Linked DNA regions of Homo sapiens: regions 2 and 3 are each linked to region 1. Evidence: promoter capture Hi-C in human tissues and cell types (Jung and others, 2019). All regions are on one chromosome and are shown on one strand. The core of a region is centred on a gene start or on the middle of the fragment in contact, and the rest is flanking DNA. Distances in the headings are between cores, read along the strand shown.

Region 1 (4,477 bases), core at 1,011-3,510:
TAATAATAATTACTTTATTGGGGTCTAATTTCTCTATAATAAACTACATTTGAATGAGTTTTGGCAAATCTGTGAAATCACTACCATAAACAAGACACAGAATACATCACCCTTAAAAGTTTCCTTGTATTACCCTTTCCAATCTGTCCCTCCATATTCAGGCCCAGGCAACTACTGATTTGCTCTCTGACACACACACACACAGACACATACACACACACCTTCCTCTTTCATATACTTTTATATAAATGGGGTCATACAAACTGTGTGATCATACTTTCACTTCCCTCGGGTAAATACCTAGAAGTGGAGGCTGGCTGCGGTGGGTCACGCCTGTAATCCTAGCACTTTGGGAGGCCGAGGTGGGTGGATTGCCTGAGCTCAGGTGTTCGAGACCAGCCTGAGCAACACGGTGAAACCCTATCTCTACTAAAATACAAAAAATGAGCTGGGTATGGCTATAGTCCCAGCTACTTAGGAGGCTGAAGCAGGAGAATTGCTTGAACCCAGGAGGCAGAGGTTGCAGTGAGCCAAGATTGTTCCACTGCACCCCAACCTGGGCAACAGAGCAAGACTGCTCAAAAAAAAAAAAAAAGTGGAAATGTTGGGTCTTATTTTATGAAAGGTATATAAGAAACTGCCAAACTGTTTCCCAAAGCATTTATACCATTTTATATCCTTACTAGCAATGTATGAGTTCCAGTTTCTTCACATCCTTCTCAACACTTGATGTTACATTTTTTAATTTTAGCCATTCTAGTTGGTATTTCATTCTGACTTTAATTTATATTTCCCTAATGATGAATAATGTTGAGCACTGTTTCATGTGCTTACTGGCTTTTTTGACGAAGTGTCTGTTAAAATCTTTCACCTTTTATATTGGGTTATCTATTATTTGTGTTCTTTACAAGTCCATTGTTGGATTCACTATCTATGAATAACTACATTTAGGCTGGGTGTGGTGGCTCACATCTGTAATCCCAGCACTTTGGGAGGCTGAGGCGGGCAGATCACCTGAGGTCAGGAGTTCAAGACCAGCCTGGCCAACATTGTGGAACCCCATCTCTACTAAAAATACAAAAATTAGCCGGGTGTGGTGGCGGTTGCCTGTAATCCCAGCTACTCAGGAGGCTGAGGTAGGAGAATTGCTTGAACCCGGGAGGTGGAGGGTGTAATGAGCTAAAATCACGCCACTGCACTCCAGCCTGGGTGACAGAGCAAGACTCAAAAAAAAAAAAAAAAAAATTTAAGGATGAGGACATTTTGGCTTTGGAAAATCAAGTAACTGGTCAAGGTCACAGATTCAAACCCAGTGCAGTTGCAGAGCCTACACTTTTTAACACTATTCCAATTCTGCCTCTTGTTACACCTCAATGCTTACAACAAAAAGACCTCATAGGAATTATTCATTTTATTGATAAAGAAACTAAAGATTGGCAGTCAATTTCCTTAACCACTTTAATATGGCTAACTGTGGGGACAGTTAACTGATCTCTGGATCCCAAATCTAACCTCATCCTAAATCATCTTCTTTCTATATTGTTCCCACAGTGATCTTTCCAAAATGTGAACCTGATCACATACGGTGGCTCCAGACTCTGGGGTAGGCACTAACTCTCCCGCACTGCAAATGGCTTTCCTTGATCTAATCCACCCTCCAGTGTCATCTACGACCATTCTTCAGGCATACACACCCCCAGCTGCTCTGAGCTCCCAGCATCAGGCCCTGGGTGCCTCTGCACTGCCGTCTCCTATGCTGGGTGGCTCTTCTCCAGAGTTGCCAGGCCAACTGCAGTTTGCCCTTCAGAGTCAGCTCATGCCTCCTCTAGGGAACCCCACAGGCTGGTCAGAACCCGCTTCCGAGTGCTCCAAAGGATCTCCCTCCCCCCGGTCGCCAGTGTATAGACTGGAACTCTGTTCCCAGCACACAACCAGCGCGAGCAGGCTGGGGCCTGAGTATGCTCAGCTAACGCCCCGGAAGCGAGAAGGAGGGAAGTGGACGACACCGGAGTCTAAAGTAAAAGTGTCACGGGAAGAGGCGCGTAGACAGACGCAGCGGGCGGCTGAGTCACGCTAAGGCTGGCAAGTCCCCAGGGCTAGAAACCGAGCAGTAACACTAGCCTACTCTCAGCTTGCCGCCCGCCCGGCGCGGCCCCTGACGTCACCCCTCTGCGCCACGCCGCCGCGGCGCTTCCGGCCGCGAGGCCGCGGAGGGCGGGACGGAGTGACTTCACGGGAAATCGCGCGCCGGAAGTGGCTAGGGCTGCACGGAAGTCGCGGGGGCGGGGCGCGGAGGCGATGGGGGGGCGGCGGCGGCCGGCGATGAGCGGCGGGAGCGCGTGAGCGAGCCGGGCGGGCGAGGCTGGGGGGCCCCGGAGCGCGAGCCGGAGGGCGGGGGCGCGAGCGCGGCGGGCGGTGGCGGCGAGGCGGCGGCCTAGAAGATGGCGGACGGCGACAGCGGCAGCGAGCGCGGCGGCGGCGGTGGGCCGTGCGGGTTCCAGCCCGCGTCCCGCGGCGGCGGCGAGCAAGAGACGCAGGAGCTGGCCTCGAAGCGGCTGGACATCCAGAACAAGCGCTTCTACTTAGATGTGAAGCAGAACGCCAAGGGCCGCTTCCTCAAGATCGCCGAGGTGGGCGCGGGCGGTTCCAAGAGCCGCCTCACGCTGTCCATGGCGGTGGCCGCCGAGTTCCGCGACTCGCTGGGCGACTTCATAGAACACTACGCGCAGCTGGGCCCTAGCAGCCCCGAGCAGCTGGCGGCTGGCGCCGAGGAGGGCGGCGGGCCGCGGCGCGCGCTCAAGAGCGAATTCTTGGTGCGTGAGAACCGCAAGTACTACCTGGACCTCAAGGAGAACCAGCGCGGCCGCTTCCTGCGCATCCGCCAAACGGTCAACCGCGGCGGTGGCGGCTTCGGCGCGGGCCCCGGGCCGGGCGGCTTGCAGAGCGGCCAGACCATCGCGCTGCCTGCGCAGGGCCTCATCGAGTTCCGCGACGCGCTGGCGAAGCTCATAGACGACTACGGAGGCGAGGACGACGAGCTGGCAGGCGGCCCGGGAGGCGGCGCCGGGGGCCCAGGGGGCGGCCTGTATGGAGAGCTCCCGGAGGGCACCTCCATCACCGTGGACTCCAAGCGCTTCTTCTTCGATGTGGGCTGCAACAAATACGGGGTGTTTCTGCGAGTGAGCGAGGTGAAGCCGTCCTACCGCAATGCCATCACCGTACCCTTCAAAGCCTGGGGCAAGTTCGGAGGCGCCTTTTGCCGGTATGCGGATGAGATGAAAGAAATCCAGGAACGACAGAGGGATAAGCTTTATGAGCGACGTGGTGGGGGCAGCGGCGGCGGCGAAGAGTCAGAGGGTGAGGAGGTGGATGAGGATTGAAACGGGCAGCTTCCCCTACAGGCCTCCACCCAACCACCATCCCCTTGGCTAGAGAATTCCCTTTCCTGCTCATCCCCAGTGAGCTAGTGGAGAGGGAGCAAGGGAGGCCGCAGAGGGAAAAAACAAAACGTAACACAGTTAAGAGAAATAATCGTAAGAGAACAGTGACGGACAACTTGAGAAAAGCAGTCAAGTTCCAAGGAACTGACAGCAACCTGCAAAGAGGAAAACAGCATCTCCTCACCTGCGTAAAATTGTCTCAGCTTCTGTTGTTTCTCAACTGAGGTTCGTAAACCCATCAGGATAATCCCTGGAGGGAATAGATCCTTGCACATCCAGGGCAAGAAACATGTCCAAGTTACCCAGACCATTGATAACAGTTGCATTTAGGTTGCACCTGGGTAATCTGGCATAAAAGATCTCTCTAGGCCTCACTGTTGCGGTGTCTATCCCTTCACCTCCATTGAAATCAGCATTTTGGATCTAGGTCTTCATGGAATCCTTGAGAAGAGAGGCCTTTACAATTACCCAGTTCTGAGGGTTCAGGTTCACGAAAAGAAATGCAACTTGGGATAATCATGAACAGGTTAAAGATAAGATTTCAAGAAGCCATCTAAGAATACAGAACCAAATTGGATCCATTTTTTTAAAAAAATGGTTTTGCATGGAACCTGGACCAAGGCAAATGTCTTTTCTTCGCAGAATTGTTTTCCAGGATGCCAGTGGATTCAGATAGCAATGCTTGGAGTAGAATCCGTTACTAAAATAGTTTCAAAGTTGACAAAAAATTTTCAAAGATAAAAGCAGTTTTACATTGGGGGTTGCTGAGGTAGGCACAAGAAAAAGTCAGGCATAAAGCACAAGGCAGACTGTTTGAGTGGATTGGTTGCTGCTCACTAAAGTTGTTCCCCTGATCTCTAAATATGGAGGTCATTACCAAGAAATGCTTTGGTATGAATGAGAGCCAGATCTCCACTGTGTGAGCCAGTGAATTATGGCTAATTCGGCTGTTACAGCCACTGGTTGGCTGGATTTTAAACCATAAAACTTGAAGATTACCTACAAAAGTAACAGTGTGGCTATAAGCCTGAGCTTTA
Region 2 (4,477 bases), core at 1,416-3,915, 370 kb after region 1:
AGCCACTGCACCCGGCCAAATACTCCCAGTTCTGTCTAGAATCTAGATGCCTGCCCCACGCTGGTCCTGGTGGAGGCCTCATCTCCCTAGTTCCTTCCCCACCTCTGCCTTTCTTGGCTTATGCCCCCTCTCTGCCCATAGGCGGTGGGCATGTCTGTGGAGTTTGTGTCCCACATTACCCGCTCCTTTGCCATCAGCACCAAGCCCACCTGGCTGGAGAGGGCCAAAGAGGCCACCATCTCTATGGGAAGTGCGGTGAGTGGAGAGGAGTGGGCCACCCTGTGCCCCACTCGACACCCTGTGCCCTGCCTGATGCCCTGTGCCCTGCCTGATGCCCTGTGCCCTGCCTGACACCTGGCTCTGAACCCCCCAGGTGTTTGCAGGTGTGGCCATGACCAACCTGCCTGGCATCCTTGTCCTGGGCCTCGCCAAGGCCCAGCTCATTCAGATCTTCTTCTTCCGCCTCAACCTCCTGATCACTCTGCTGGGCCTGCTGCATGGCTTGGTCTTCCTGCCCGTCATCCTCAGCTACGTGGGTGAGTGCCCAGGCCTGTTCCTACCAGACTGTCATGATTATGCTGACGACAACAGTAACAGTGCATGCTCACCACAAAAGCTCAGGAAGTGCAAACGAGCCATGGGCAGATGTCAGAAGCCAGGACTATGACCATGTGGCAATTCTGTCTTGGAAGCTACTATTATTCATTTAATGTGCTGTGAACATCTTTTTTTGTCAGCTATGTATGTCTCAAACAACGTTTCTGTGGCCCTGTACACTGTGGATCTTCACTGCACTGCTGTTGGACTTTTAAGCATGCCCTTCAGCAAGAAATATATTTTACACAGAGAGGTGACATGCACGGGCACACATAGACATGCCTGCCTAAAACAAATGCTTCACTAAATAATATTAATACTTCCTTTATACATGTGAAGCATTCTGATATTGCTGGTTCCATTCTATTATTATTATTAATATTTTTTGGAGACAGGGTCTTGCTCTGACACCCAGGCTGGAGTGCAGTAGCATGATCACAGCTCACTGCCACCTTGACTTCCCAGGCTCAAGTGATCCTCCCACCTCAGCCTCCCGAGTAGCTGGGACCACAGGTGCACACCACCATGCCCAGCTAATTTTTTATTTTTTGTAGAGATGGGGTCTCCCTATGTTGCCCAGGCTGGTCTCAAACTCCTGAGCTCAAGTGATCCACCATGGCCTTCCACAGTGCTAGGATTACAGGTGTGAGCCACTGCGCTTGGCTTTTATTTTACTTTAAATTTGTTATTTATTTTATTTTACTTTACATTATTTTATTTTTATTTTTTGAGATGGAGTCTCGCTCTGTTGCCCAGGCTGGAGTGCAGTGGTATGATCTCAGCTCCCTGCAACCTCTGCCTCCCAAGTTCAAGCCATTCTCCTGCTTTAGCCTCCCAAGTAGCTGGGATTACAGGTGCGCACCACCACGCCTGGCCAATTTATTTATTTATTTTTTATTTTTAGTAGAGACGGGGTTTCACCATGTTGGGCAGGCTGGTCTCGAACTCCTGACCTCAGGTGATCCAACCGCCAAGGCCTCCCAAAGTGCTGGGATTACAGGCGTGAGCCACTGTGCCCAGCCCTATCATTAATTTGTTTTTAATTATTTTAATTATTTTTATTTTTATTATTTTTAGACAGAGTCTCTCTCTGTTGCCCAGGCTGGAGTGCAGTGGCGCAATCTCAGCTCACTGCAACCTCTGCCTCCTGGGTTCAAGCGATTCTCCTGTCTCAGCCTCTCGAGTAGCTGGGATATCGGTGTATGCCACCATACCTGGCTAATTTTTGTATTTTTATTGGAGACAGGTTTCACCATGTTGGTCAGGCTGGTCTCGAACTCCTGTGGCCTCAGGTGATCCATCTGCCTTGGCCTCCCAAAGTGCAGGGATTACAGGCGTGGGCCACCGCACCCGGTCTCATTAATATTTTGAAATGCTGGCCAGGAGTGGTGGCTCATGTTTGTAATCCTAGCACTTTGGGAGGCTGAGGCACATGGAAGCTCAAATTGAGCCTCCCAGGATGAAGGTGTTTCTGGCTCTCAGGGTGGGCAAGCTGGGAGGAGTTCAATTTTACCTCCCACCAGATGGTAATAATATTATTAGAGGACATTTATAGAGGGGTGTGTTTGTGCATCAACATATGTGTCTGTAATTCTCTTACTACCCCCGAGGCAGGTATTATTATCCTTCCCATTTTACAGATGAGGGAACTGAGACACCTGCCCCAGGTTACAGACTTGGTCAAAGGTAGTAGGGGTTGGAGCCCACACAGCTCTGTGGTTCCTAACCATGTCTCTTGTGGGGACTCCCTGACCCTCTTGGAAGGAGTAGAGTGTGTGCGCTGGGGGTGGTGGATGAGACATAAGAGAGGGGCAAGGAGGAGCAGTCGTGGGGTGTGCTTGGACAAAGGATATCCAGGGCCTTGGAGCTGCAGGTGGTGGCTATTCCTTGGAGGTTCCCAAAATGCTTGGGGGATGGAGGGACCAGGACATCCCTGAAGCTTGGGCTGTGAACATAGTGACCCTGGAAGGCACATGGCACAGATCCCCCCTGGGACCCTTCCTGCCCTGGGTTTGTTGTACAGAACCAGGAATAGCTTCTCACCTGTGTCCCCTGCCCACCTCTCTGACTGTGGTTCTCTGTCTCTCCGCAGGGCCTGACGTTAACCCGGCTCTGGCACTGGAGCAGAAGCGGGCTGAGGAGGCGGTGGCAGCAGTCATGGTGGCCTCTTGCCCAAATCACCCCTCCCGAGTCTCCACAGCTGACAACATCTATGTCAACCACAGCTTTGAAGGTTCTATCAAAGGTGCTGGTGCCATCAGCAACTTCTTGCCCAACAATGGGCGGCAGTTCTGATACAGCCAGAGGCCCTGTCTAGGCTCTATGGCCCTGAACCAAAGGGTTATGGGGATCTTCCTTGTGACTGCCCCTTGACACACGCCCTCCTCAAATCCTAGGGGAGGCCATTCCCATGAGACTGCCTGTCACTGGAGGATGGCCTGCTCTTGAGGTATCCAGGCAGCACCACTGATGGCTCCTCTGCTCCCATAGTGGGTCCCCAGTTTCCAAGTCACCTAGGCCTTGGGCAGTGCCTCCTCCTGGGCCTGGGTCTGGAAGTTGGCAGGAACAGACACACTCCATGTTTGTCCCACACTCACTCACTTTCCTAGGAGCCCACTTCTCATCCAACTTTTCCCTTCTCAGTTCCTCTCTCGAAAGTCTTAATTCTGTGTCAGTAAGTCTTTAACACGTAGCAGTGTCCCTGAGAACACAGACAATGACCACTACCCTGGGTGTGATATCACAGGAGGCCAGAGAGAGGCAAAGGCTCAGGCCAAGAGCCAACGCTGTGGGAGGCCGGTCGGCAGCCACTCCCTCCAGGGCGCACCTGCAGGTCTGCCATCCACGGCCTTTTCTGGCAAGAGAAGGGCCCAGGAAGGATGCTCTCATAAGGCCCAGGAAGGATGCTCTCATAAGCACCTTGGTCATGGATTAGCCCCTCCTGGAAAATGGTGTTGGGTTTGGTCTCCAGCTCCAATACTTATTAAGGCTGTTGCTGCCAGTCAAGGCCACCCAGGAGTCTGAAGGCTGGGAGCTCTTGGGGCTGGGCTGGTCCTCCCATCTTCACCTCGGGCCTGGATCCCAGGCCTCAAACCAGCCCAACCCGAGCTTTTGGACAGCTCTCCAGAAGCATGAACTGCAGTGGAGATGAAGATCCTGGCTCTGTGCTGTGCACATAGGTGTTTAATAAACATTTGTTGGCAGAAATGGTGTTTTATGTCACATGTCCTACCCTGGCTTCCTCCTCTCGGTTTAAGATAATTTTTGTGAATGACACAAATAATACATGTGTGGGAGAGTGATTTGTGGAGATACTAGTCTGTGTTTTGTTCTATTTCTCCTCCCTCTTTTCAAGAAAGTAGCCAGGCCATTGTGTGCTCATGCCTTACAAGGGCCTTTGAGGAGTGGGAGTAATTTCTCTTCAAACTGGGAGGGCACAGAGCCTGAGAGTCAGTCAGGAGTAGGATGTGCAGCCCCTCCTTTTCTGGAAGAGACTGTGAAGTAGGCAACACCTGGAGGAGCTACAGGAGAACCACGGTGCATTCAAGGAGGGAAGAACCCACCGTACAAACAACCAGCTCCCAGGAGGGCCCCAGGCCAGGGCAGTGGGTGGAAATGTCAAGGAACATTCCAGATCCCCTCGAGTCTTTCTGCCCCATGCTGGGTCCAGCCCTTGTTTGGCTGAGGGGCTGCTGTTGCTTTGAGGCTCAGAGGGACTGTCAGCATGTAAAGGGAAGACAAGCAAAAAGGGGTGGAAAGGAGCTGGCGTTTCTGGAGCCTACTATCTACTTTTGGGTCCTCATAAGAGCCCCATGTGCCAGCATCATTAGCCCACCTTTGGGAGGGTTGCTGGCTGACCATGATGGACAGGAGGTTTGGT
Region 3 (4,477 bases), core at 681-3,180, 310 kb before region 1:
GCCACAGCCAGGGTCCTTGAGTGGCTGCCCAATCCTGGAGAGCTCCACCATGGGGATGGGCCTGCAAGTAATCAGCCATCCACTAGTTCCTACAGGCTGTCTCACCCCGAGGCCTCCTACCCTAAAACCCAATGAAGACGACTCCCTTTTCTGTTAACCATAAGGGCATTCCTTTCTGTTTCTACTTTGCTGAGAGTTTATCATAAATGAATGTTGAGTTTAGTTGCCACATCTGTCTGATATTTATCTGAAATTCTCTGAATGTGGTGACTGACACTGATTGACTTTTAAGATAAAACCAACTTTTCATTCCTGGGATCAAACCCACTTGGTTAAGGTGTATTATCCTTCCTATATATTACTAGATGCAATTTGTTAATATTTTGTTAAAGACTTTCACATCTATGTTCATGAAAAATATTGGTCTATAATTTTCTTTTCTTATAATTTCCTTGTCAGGTTTTGGTATCAAAGTTATGCTGGACCCATAAAGTGAATTTAAAAAAAATTCCTCGGCAGGCCACAGTGGTTCATGCCTGTAATCCCAGCACTTTGGGATGACAAAGCATCCAAAATAATAATAATAATAATAATAATAATAATAATAATAATAATAAGATACAAAAACATTCTTTCCTCTTCTGCTGTATTAGTTAAATAATGGTGTTATTTCTTTCTTAAATGTTTGACAGAATTTACCAGTGAAACCATCTGGCTCTGGAGTTTTCTTTCTAGGAAAACTTTTTATTAATTCGATTTCTTTAATACCGGCACCATTCAGATCTACTATTACTTCTTCTTTTTTTTTGAGACAGAGTCTCACTCTGTCTCCCAGGATGGAGTACAGTGGCGCAATCTCAGTTCACAGCAACCTCCACCTCCCAGATTCAAGAGATTCTCCTGCTTCAGCCTCCCAAGTAGCCGGGACTACAGGTGTACCACCATGACCAGCTAATTTTTGTATTTTTAATAGAGATGGGGTTTCACCATGCTAGCCAGGCTGGTAGGCTGGTCTCAAACTCCTGACCTCAGGTGATCTGCTTGCCTCGGTCTCCCAAAGTGCTGGGACTACAGATCTTTAGATAGAGGGTGTTGAGTGATTATCAAAATCAATATCTTTATCCTTACTAGAGACATAGCAATAAGTAAACAAGGGCTCTTTCTTATATGTCTCTAAAAAGAAGCAAATGTCTTCATACCAAAACACAAATCAGCCCCAGAGATGCTATTAATAATACCAGACAGTCTTGCTGGTCTGGCGTAATGAAGGTAGATCTTTGGATATCAAGAGGCATAGATGTTGCCTTCTAGCAATTCTTTATAAATATTGCATCTCTCAGCTACAAGTGGATAGATCTGGAGCTACAGTCAGTTCAAGATTGCTGGTCAGTCAGGGAGCCATATCCCAGACAGTTGGTCAAGCTTATGTCTTGCAGCCAGTGCAAGACAGTCACACATGGTGAGGACAGTCCCCCTCCTCATGCCAAGAAACCTGCAGACAGGGGAAGTGAGGTCTTAAACATGAGCTGCCTGATTCTCTTTGCTGGGCACCCTGAAAACAAATACCGTCCTTTCTCCCACTGCAAACCTTGATGTGAAAGTTTGGCCTCACTGCACTGGGTGAACAGACCCAGTTCAGTTCAATAACACCTCCAGAACTGGACTCATCATTCTGATCTCATGGAACACTCTCATCATTGGTGGTACTGGCTTCAGTTTATTTAGTGGTTTTGTTCTGTAGTTACTTGCTTTTAAGAATGTACTAAGCTCCACTCAGACCAAAGCCAAGTCCCTGCCGTGGTCATCCAGCCCCCCACAGCCTTCCCCATTTCTTTTTTTTTTTTTCTTTTTTCTTTTTTCTTTTTTCTTTTTTGAGATGCAGTTTTGCTCTTGTTGCCCAGGCTAGAGTGCAACGGTGCAATCTCAGCTCACTGCAACCTCCACCCTCTGGGCTCACGCGATTCTGCCTCAGCCTCTCGAGTACCTGGGATTACAGGCATGCACCACCACACCCAACTAATTTTGTATTTTTAGTAGGGACAGGGTTTCACCATATTGGTCAGGCTGGTCTCGAACTCCTGACCTCAGGTGGTCCACCTGCGTCAGCCTCCCAAACTGCTGGGATTACAGGCATGAGCCACCGCACCTGGCCTCCATTTTTTTAATATTTTAGGTTGATTGTAGTTTTTTGTTTTGTTGTTGTTGTTGTTGTTGTTTTACAAGCCAGAATGTGTGGTCCCTCCTGCTATTGGTCCTTTTCTTGGAAGCTGTATCCAAGAATTTACAATGTCAAGAGGAACAGGAATGCACCTTAGGACCTCACTGTGCACCCAGTTCACAGGGATGTACATTCTTTTAATGGGTCCAGCTGGACGCAAGCCCAACTCCTCAGAGGAAGGGAACCTGCATGGAAAGCCGCGCCTCAATAACCACGATGACAATAACCGAGATGTCCTCCCAGAATCAGCACAACGTGGGCACCCAGTAAATATCACCCAACACAGTGATTGAAACTGACTCAGTTCCACCCACATGGAAACCCAAGAATGAACAGAAGCCAGCCTGAGAAAGTCCTCTTGTGTCATACAGCCCTGCTCACCCCTCCACCTAGTTCCTACCACAGCACAGTTCAGTTATGAGTGGACATCACTGTTTCCCCTGCCGGAAGTGAGCCACTTGCAAATGGTAGACAGGTGGATAAATGACAATGAAGAGGTAGTGGCTTTTTAGGAAAAGTCCTCTCACACTCTTAGATAATACAGCTGAGGGCAGATACCAGCTGGCATATGATAAACCACTACCTTGACCTTCAAGCCATGATCTGACCTTCAGACCCTGCTTCACCATTTGGAGCTGTTTACCAAGGAGCTTAATTCCAGCAGAACATCTTCACAGACAAAACCCCCAGAAACGCTGCATTCTCCCAACAAGTTCAACATTACCTGATCATCAGAGATAGCAGTAAATCCTGTTGGGTCATCCTTACCCAGGGGCCAAGAAGATGACATCTTTATGATTTAAGAGAACTAACCTTAAACCATCTTTTTGTCCCTTTTGTACTTGAATACTTTTTACAATAAATGGTACCTTAGATCCATGACTACTGCTGAATAGGACTTGCTGGAACATTGTTCCTAAACCAAGCTTTGTCCCAGAAAAAAAATCATTTCTGAAAAGCTGCAACACAATAAAACATTCTTCAACATTGTTATAAAATTCTCAAGACCCTTACAAATGCACAAATGGGTTCCGGAAGCTTCAAAACTAGATGCCCTGACTACTTTTATTATGATTCAAAAAATGGTATGAAAATACCGCATTGGAGGTAGTTTTATTTTTGATTAACCCTAGAACAGTCAATCAACCATGTTACCCTAAACAGCACTCTGGAGTCTGAGGACCCACTATTAAATTTAAAGGTACAGATAAATGTCCAAACTATGGATGCCCAAATGTGGAATCTGAAGCTGTTAACATCATCTCTGTCATGTCCCCCTCTCATCATTTTTATTGTTGCAAAGTTAGAAGTAGGGTGAGTCATCTCCCTCCCATTCAGGGGCCATGTCCTCATCTGCAGCACAGACTCTGCGAAGGCATCCAGCAGGTGCTCTCTAATTCTGCTGGTCCTGGCAGAGGGAAGGCATCTCACCCTCCATAGACTGTCCACCCAGACCAGAAGTCATAGCACCCTGTGAGCTCACTGTGGGTCACCTGCCTTTTCACCAGAGCAGTCAACCCTAAGAGGAGGCTGCCGGTCCATTGCGCACACACTAGTCCAGCGGGCTGCAGCCAAGCATTCCAGGCAAAATGACAGCCAACTGACATCCTGAAGGGAGAAAGGATCTCTCAGAAATTGGGCAGCTCTTCTGCCCCCTCCCTCTAAGCCAAGCCCCCAGATTCACCCACTTCAGCCTCCACTCAAGAACAAGGGCCTCAGCCCCTCCTGTCCTGCTGGCTGCATCTCCTCTTCCCAGCCTCGGGCCTCGGCCCCAAGTGAGCTCTGTGCTCTTTAAAGCCCATGGCTTTAAATGTCCACATCCAGCCCAAACCTTCCCAAGGTCCAGACTCAGCGGTCCAACTGCCCTGCTGGCTTCCCTCACTGCCCTATGTCATCGCATCCTGTGGCTGGAGCACCTTCTGGACTGGAAGACTTCCTGTCTGGTCTTCACCATCTCAGAAAACAGTAAGGCCCAGGAGATAACCTTCATCCCTCCCTCCTCCACCATCAACCCACCCCTCTGCACCCCGCACTGTGACACCAGCACACCTGCTGGGGTCTCCCTTGGACTCCCTGAGATCCCCCCAACCTCCTTGCCCTGCATTGCATCCTGCATTCTCCACAGGGGTCACAGTGGTCTTCTAAGGTGGAAATCACAGAGGCTGAAACTTGCAAATGCTTCTCCCCACACCAGAAAAATCTTGCCCGCCCCACCCCATCATTCGCACACCCCTCACCCATTCCTCCTTCAAAGTCTTA

What was found. The method cuts DNA at HindIII sites, captures the fragments that hold promoters and counts their contacts. A contact is called where the count stands out against the background at its distance.
Region 2: a contact is called between a fragment that was not itself captured here and the fragment with the promoter of PURB in region 1, in 1 of the 25 tissues and cell types used here (spleen).
Region 3: a fragment that was not itself captured here is called in contact with the fragment with the promoter of PURB in region 1 in 1 of the 25 tissues and cell types used here (heart left ventricle).

Annotation. Positions count from the first base shown.
Region 1 is chr7:44,883,313-44,887,789 of GRCh38, reverse strand. It overlaps PURB (purine rich element binding protein B), which reads left to right and starts at 2,260. Exons shown (of 1, transcript NM_033224.5): 1 at 2,260-4,477. The coding sequence starts at 2,442. The coding sequence ends at 3,380. RefSeq lists enhancers at 134-233, 1,831-2,080, 2,229-3,188 and silencers at 2,071-2,430, 2,721-2,770. The HindIII fragment of the contact is 10,196 bases long and covers 1-4,359 here.
Region 2 is chr7:44,511,862-44,516,338 of GRCh38, reverse strand. NPC1L1 (NPC1 like intracellular cholesterol transporter 1) reads left to right here. Exons shown (of 19, transcript NM_001101648.2): 17 at 142-255; 18 at 374-536; 19 at 2,690-3,804. The coding sequence ends at 2,892. Among named protein-coding and RNA genes, the nearest start is that of NUDCD3, 23 kb to the right of the region's middle. The HindIII fragment of the contact is 7,316 bases long and covers 1-4,477 here.
Region 3 is chr7:45,194,632-45,199,108 of GRCh38, reverse strand. No RefSeq gene overlaps it. Among named protein-coding and RNA genes, the nearest start is that of RAMP3, 39 kb to the right of the region's middle. The HindIII fragment of the contact is 6,228 bases long and covers 1-4,477 here.